Linked DNA regions of Homo sapiens: region 2 is linked to region 1. The links are contacts of gene promoters, found by promoter capture Hi-C in blood cells and fetal thymus (Javierre and others, 2016). All regions are on one chromosome and are shown on one strand. The core of a region is centred on a gene start or on the middle of the fragment in contact, and the rest is flanking DNA. Distances in the headings are between cores, read along the strand shown. Region 1 holds the start of ALPG (alkaline phosphatase, germ cell). Region 2 holds the start of ECEL1 (endothelin converting enzyme like 1).

The links. Contacts are between HindIII fragments. The CHiCAGO score rates a contact against its expected background, and 5 or more counts as called.
Region 2: a contact is called between the fragment with the promoter of ECEL1 here and the fragment with the promoter of ALPG in region 1, in 1 of 17 cell types (erythroblasts). The highest score is 5.5, in erythroblasts.

Annotation. Positions count from the first base shown.
Region 1 is chr2:232,405,127-232,408,279 of GRCh38, forward strand. It overlaps ALPG (alkaline phosphatase, germ cell), which reads left to right and starts at 1,718. Exons shown (of 11, transcript NM_031313.3): 1 at 1,718-1,835; 2 at 1,931-2,047; 3 at 2,160-2,275; 4 at 2,468-2,642; 5 at 2,719-2,891; 6 at 3,141-3,153. The coding sequence starts at 1,769. RefSeq lists an enhancer at 1,782-2,981. The HindIII fragment of the contact is 10,567 bases long and covers 1-3,153 here.
Region 2 is chr2:232,486,101-232,489,110 of GRCh38, forward strand. ECEL1 (endothelin converting enzyme like 1) reads right to left here and starts at 1,734. Exons shown (of 18, transcript NM_004826.4): 1 at 1,619-1,734; 2 at 1-654. The coding sequence starts at 553. LOC124906124 (a long non-coding RNA gene) reads left to right here and starts at 1,843. Exons shown (of 3, transcript XR_007088123.1): 1 at 1,843-2,859. RefSeq lists an enhancer at 1-388. The HindIII fragment of the contact is 9,213 bases long and covers 1-3,010 here.

The sequences.
Region 1 (3,153 bases), core at 468-2,967:
TTGAGACAGAGTCTTGCTCTGTCGGCCAAGCTGGAGTGCAGTGGCGCGATCTTGGCTCACTGCAAGCTCCACCTCCGGGTTCACACCATTCTCCTGCCTCAGCCTCCCGAGTAGCTGGGACCACAGGTGCCTGCCACCACGCCCGGCTAATTTTTTGTATTTTTAGTAGAGACAGGGTTTCACCGTGTTAGCCAGGATGGTCTCGATCTCCTGACCTTGTGATCCACCCGCCTCGGCCTCCCAAAGTGCTGGGATTACAGGCGTGAACCACTGTGCCCGGCCTTCAAACCACATTTTCTAGGAAAGGCCTTCCTAGGCCCCTTGTCCTATTCCAGCAACTCCCCACAATTTGATGGCCAGCACTTTGTACATCTCTAAAAACATTCCTCTTCCACTAGATTGTGCCCTCCACAAGGGCAGAGGTCTGTTTTGCCCACGATTGTGGCACATGTCACACACCCTTGAGCACTCTGGTTCCTCTCCAAATCCATTTCTCCTGAATGTGGGCCCAGATTGGTGGCTCAAGTCTGGAACCCTAGCAGTGTTGAAGGATCGCCTGAGCCCAGGAGTGCAAGACCAGCACGGGTAACAGAAAGAGATCCTGACTCTACACAAATTTTTGAAAATTAGCTTCACATAATGGAAGATACACGGGAGGCTGATGTGGGAGGATCGCTTGAGCCTAGGAGGTGTGGCGTGAATGCACCACTGCACTCCAACTTGGGTGACAGAGCCAGCCCCTGTCTCAAAAAAATAAATAAATAATAATAATAAAACAGAAAGAAAAAAATGATGGCAAGGTATCTGAACTGCAGAAATACTTTTTAACTCAGCCTGAGGCTATCAAAACATCTGATCCCCATGTGAAAGGCTACAGTTCTGGGCATGCTCAGGGCCCACCGAAAACAGAGTCCGCCCAGGCACCCTCTGCCTGTGCAAGGGAACAGGTGTCACAATCAAGTGCACAAGCTGCTCTGGAAGACCCAGCCCAGGCCTGTCTGGCCGAGGGCACTGGACTCTCCCCCACTGCGTCGTCCAAACATTAGTGCGAGTGCACCCACACAAACACATACACAATCAAACACAACATGTAAGCAATGGGCAGGACTGGCCCGGCCCCACTCAGTGTTGTCACCATTGGCCCCACAGATGCCCACAGCCCTGGAGCTCTGGGCCTAGATTCCTGCCAGCCCCACCTGTCCAGGCCAAGGCCAGATGTTGGAGCAAGGGGGTGCCAGAGCGGCAAAGCCCCCCATGTGCCCCTTTCCCACCGGGCCCAGGCTCCTGGCATCAGAAAGCTGAACCCAGTATCTGGCCCGGGCTGTGTGCTTCCAGCCTCCCCTCCTCTCGACACCAGAACAGAGCCTGGCCCCCAGCTCCCAGGAAATACAGAAAAAAAAAATGGTGGATGAACGAGTGACAGGGTGTCTAGTTCCACACAAGACACAGTGAGCAGGGGTTGGGGGAGGGGCCCCTGGCGGCAGGATGCACACTGCACTATACCCAAAATCCCACCCTTCCCTGGGGGACACCTGGTCCCACCCTAAGCTGCCTTTCTCAGGACCCCAGCCCCAGCCCAGCCCAGCCACACCCTGCCACTCCCTTCAGCCAGTGTGGCTTCAGGTCAAGAGGCTGGGCGGGGTCAAGGTGGTAACAAGGGGAGGGGCCAGGACACAGTTTTCCCTGATTTAAACCCAGGCAGCCTGGAGTGCAGCTCATACTCCATACCTGGGATTTCCGCCTCGCCGCTCTCCGACTGCTTCCAGACATGCAGGGGCCCTGGGTGCTGCTCCTGCTGGGCCTGAGGCTACAGCTCTCCCTGGGCATCATCCCAGGTAATGAGGCTCCCCCAGCTGCCCCTACACACACACACACACACAGGGCACCCCCCAGCCCAGGCTGACCTGATCTTTGCTCTCCCCCTGGCCAGTTGAGGAGGAGAACCCGGACTTCTGGAACCGCCAGGCAGCCGAGGCCCTGGGTGCCGCCAAGAAGCTGCAGCCTGCACAGACAGCCGCCAAGAACCTCATCATCTTCCTGGGTGACGGTGAGTGAGCCAGGCCTTCCAGCCCCGCAGCCCTCACAGCCCCGGCGCCCGGACCCTCAGTGGTTCCAGGACAGCCCTGGGGAGCAAGCCTCACACACTTCTGCTCCTTCAGGGATGGGGGTGTCTACGGTGACAGCTGCCAGGATCCTAAAAGGGCAGAAGAAGGACAAACTGGGGCCTGAGACCTTCCTGGCCATGGACCGCTTCCCGTACGTGGCTCTGTCCAAGGTAAGTGCTGGGCTACCTTAGAGTCCTCCAAGCAGAGAAGGGGAATCCTGGCTATGGAGTGTGGTAGGAGGGAGGGACCCTAAACAGCTGGGGCTCCAATAAGGAGCTGGAGGCAGTTGGAATCCCAGAGGACAGAGATCAGGGTCTTGTTTGTCTGCCCCAGAGAAGAGCTCAGAGTGTCTCTGTCCCCAGACATACAGTGTAGACAAGCATGTGCCAGACAGTGGAGCCACAGCCACGGCCTACCTGTGCGGGGTCAAGGGCAACTTCCAGACCATTGGCTTGAGTGCAGCCGCCCGCTTTAACCAGTGCAACACGACACGCGGCAACGAGGTCATCTCCGTGATGAATCGGGCCAAGAAAGCAGGTGAGCTGGGGCCCGCTGTGGGGTCAGGGCCAGGTGACAGACCTCTATCGCATATCCTGACCTCTATCACCCTCAGGAAAGTCAGTGGGAGTGGTAACCACCACACGGGTGCAGCATGCCTCGCCAGCCGGCGCCTACGCCCACACGGTGAACCGCAACTGGTACTCGGATGCCGACGTGCCTGCCTCGGCCCGCCAGGAGGGGTGCCAGGACATCGCCACGCAGCTCATCTCCAACATGGACATTGATGTGCGACCCCCGGGCCAAGGGCTGGGGCTGGGCAGAGAGTAGCAGGGAGGGGGCACCAGCTCAGACCCAGGCAACCAAAAGCCTTATCTGGGCCAGCAGGGTCTGGAGGTGGGGTTGGGGGCGTAGAAGGCGCAGCCCAGGCTGGGCCATTCCCACAGCCTTGGGGAGGGGAGTCAGGGGCTGTGCATGAGGAGGGGACACGGGGCCAGCCAGGCCCCCAAATCCACCTGCCCCATCCTCTGTTCCCAGGTGATCCTAGGTG
Region 2 (3,010 bases), core at 484-2,983, 81 kb after region 1:
GGAAGAAGGCGCGCACCTTGCGCTGGGCCGCGCCGCCAGGCCCACCCCCGGGCCGCGCCAGCAGGCGCCGTAGGCGCTCCTCGTTTTGCTCGCCGATGGCCGCGATGGTGCCATAGGTGAGCTTGTCGTCGGGGATGGCGTGGCGCCGCAGCCAACCGCCGCAGGCGAACGAGTAGAAGTCCTGGCATGGGTCGATGCTGGCGTCCAGGTTGGCGGCCAGGAAGCGAGCGGCGCGCGCGAAGGCCTTGCGCTCAGGGCAGCCCTCGGGACAGGCGCCGCCGCCGGCCGCGACCGGGCCCAGGTACTTGAGGGCCAGCATAGCCGCCAGAATGGCGCAGAGGCCGGCGGCGAACACCAGCCCCGACAGCAGGCACACCTCGCGCCGGTTCCAGCGCGGCAGCCCGGACCGGGCCCCGGTGGCGCTGCGCGCAGCGCCCAACGGGAAGCCCGGGGGCAGGGAGGCCCCGCGCGCGCCCCCCGCGCCGCAGCGGCTCACGTACTTGACCTCTTGGAACTCATCGTAGTGCGCCGTCAGCGAATACGGGGGCTCCATGGCGCCGAGGCCGCCGCGGTGCAGACCTGGGCCACCTGGGCTACGGGATGCGCGTGGCCGCCGGCCTCCTCGTGGGCCTCCGCATGGCCCTGGGGCCGCAGCTGCGGGAAGGGCGGAAGCAGGCTCAGGAGGCGCCGCAGCCGGATGGGGCTCAGGGTCACCGCGAGGAGGGACACAGGCCTGGGTGCAGAGGCCCCAGCCGCGGGCCTCATTCACTGCGGAAACCAGGGACTATGAGGGTTCGGCGGGGCCACCACCCCCGGGTGCACAGTGGAGTCTTCCCCCCTGTCCCCTCCCTGCACACACTTGAGGGCCGCAGGGTTGGGAGGGCTCTTATTGGAAGCAAGAGGCGCCAGGCAAGGGGCCTGGCACGTAGTGGGCCTTCATTGAAAGGTCGTCCCTCTTCCCCTTCGCCTTTCTCTTCCACGACCTGCCCCAGCCAAGGCCGGGTGGAGTGGGGGAAGAAGCGGAGGCTGGAGTGAGGAGGTGCGGTCAGGGGCGCGTCTATGCGACACTTTCAGCTCTCCGCGCTGGACCCAGACAGACGCTCCGCAAAGCGGCCAAAGAACCAAACTTTGTCCTCGCGGAAGTCCGCGGGATCGACCACGCCAACCCCGCTCCCTGGCTCCTTCTGCTCGGTGGCCCGACGGCCCACTCGCCCCTTCCCTAGGGGCGCGCGCCAACGCCCCAGGGTGGCGGACACACAACCCACCCACTGGACGGCCCTGATGGAGAACCCGAGACGGGTTCCCTCCCCCCACTCCCACCATCTCTGTCCCCGCCCCGAGCCACTCCTGGCTTCAACAGGTTCTCCCCAGAACCCAAACTTGGGCGAAGTTTCACCCCCGGCGGGGAGCGAGCTGGCTGGCGACCCCCGAGCCCCGGCGCCGTGCGGCGCAGTCCGCGGAGCCCGAGAGCCGAGCCCGGGAGCCGCAGCCGCAGCCGCAGCCGGAGCCGCAGCCGAGAGGACGCAGACAAAGCCGGGAGGCTCCGCGCAGTGGCGGCGGCGGCGACGGAAGTGGCCGCGGTGGTGGCCTCAGCGGCAGGGACTCGGGCGCCACTTACCCGGCAGGTGCGCGCCCGAGCCGGCGGTGACCGAGCGGGTCGGGCCCGAGCGGGGGCCTGAGCCGCAGCGCAGCCGAGCGGGCGTCCGGTGTCTCCCAGCGCCCGCCGCCTCCTCTGCCGCCGCGCCGAGCCCGCCGCGCCGCCCGCCTGCCGGCCCGAGGGAGGGGGCGCGCCGGCGGCTCCACCCTCCTCCGCCCGCCCCGCGCGCCCCTCCTTCCTCCTGCATCTCTCGGGCCACCTGGCAGTGGGGCGGCAGCGCGGACGTGGGTCGGCGGCCGCGGAGACAGGCTCCCGGGGGTCGTGCGCGGGCTGCGGTCGGGGACTCCGGGTCCAGCCGCGTTCCGAGACGAGTGAGGGCAGCGAGTACTCCCGTGAAGGGTCCCCTCCGATCCAGTGTCCCCACTCCCAGCCGCCCACCAGCCGGCTGGAAAGGGGCTGGAGCTGGAGATGAGGAGCCGAGGACTCCTCCGAAGGGCTGGGGGCGGTGTCAGTAGTGCCTGTGTCTGCCGGCACAGTCCCTGGCGCAGAGCGCACCTTCACTAACCGGCTTTTTTGTCCTCCTTGGAACCCCTGCCCTGGATGGGCTCTCCACTAGGGCTTCTGGTTGGCCTCGCTCCCTTCACCTAGCCCCTGGTGAAGGGAGCTCAGCGGGGACTCCTGCAAGAAGAGGGCTTGCCGCCCCCTTCCCCATCCTCCCCAGCCTTGGGTGGCCCTGGCACCACGGCTCAGGGAGTCCCTGGCCCAGGTAGGAAGAAAAGGCCAAGAGAAGAATGAGCGAAGTCTCCCTGCTGGAGCCAGGGAAGGCTGGAGCCTGCCCCCTCTGGCCAGCAGCCCTAGGCCTCAGACAGGCCCTGAGCCTCAAGACCCTGGTATGTGGACTGATGGGAGGGCAGGCTGGGTGCAGGGACTCTGAATTTACTCACCGCCTGCCTTCTTCCAGGTAAACTGGCTTTTTAAATGTGGGGCCTCCCCACTGCCTGGAGGCAAAGCCCTCTTCTACCTGCCTGCCTGCCTTGGCCAGACAGCCTGGCCCTAATGGGACACAGAGAACTTGGGGCTCCTTGGAAGACTGATACTGTTTCTGGAGTCTCTGCTTTCTCTGCCCTACCCTGCCTCTGGTGTCTCTAGCAGGAGACCCCACAAAGCACCAGCCCTCCCAGGTCTGCCGGCTCCAGCCCGTAGGATTGGCTTAAACAATGTGTGAGAGCCATGGAGCACCATCTAATAAAAATCACAACAAGGTAGGGACTCTGATAACCTACCCATCATCCTGTTCTCCTCCTCAGGGTCTGTGCATCTGCCCAGCTCCTGAGCCCTGGCCCTGAGTGCCGGCCTCTGCCCCTGTCTTGCCTCTCCCTGCCTCTTCATCTCTCCATCTCTAAGCCCCCACTC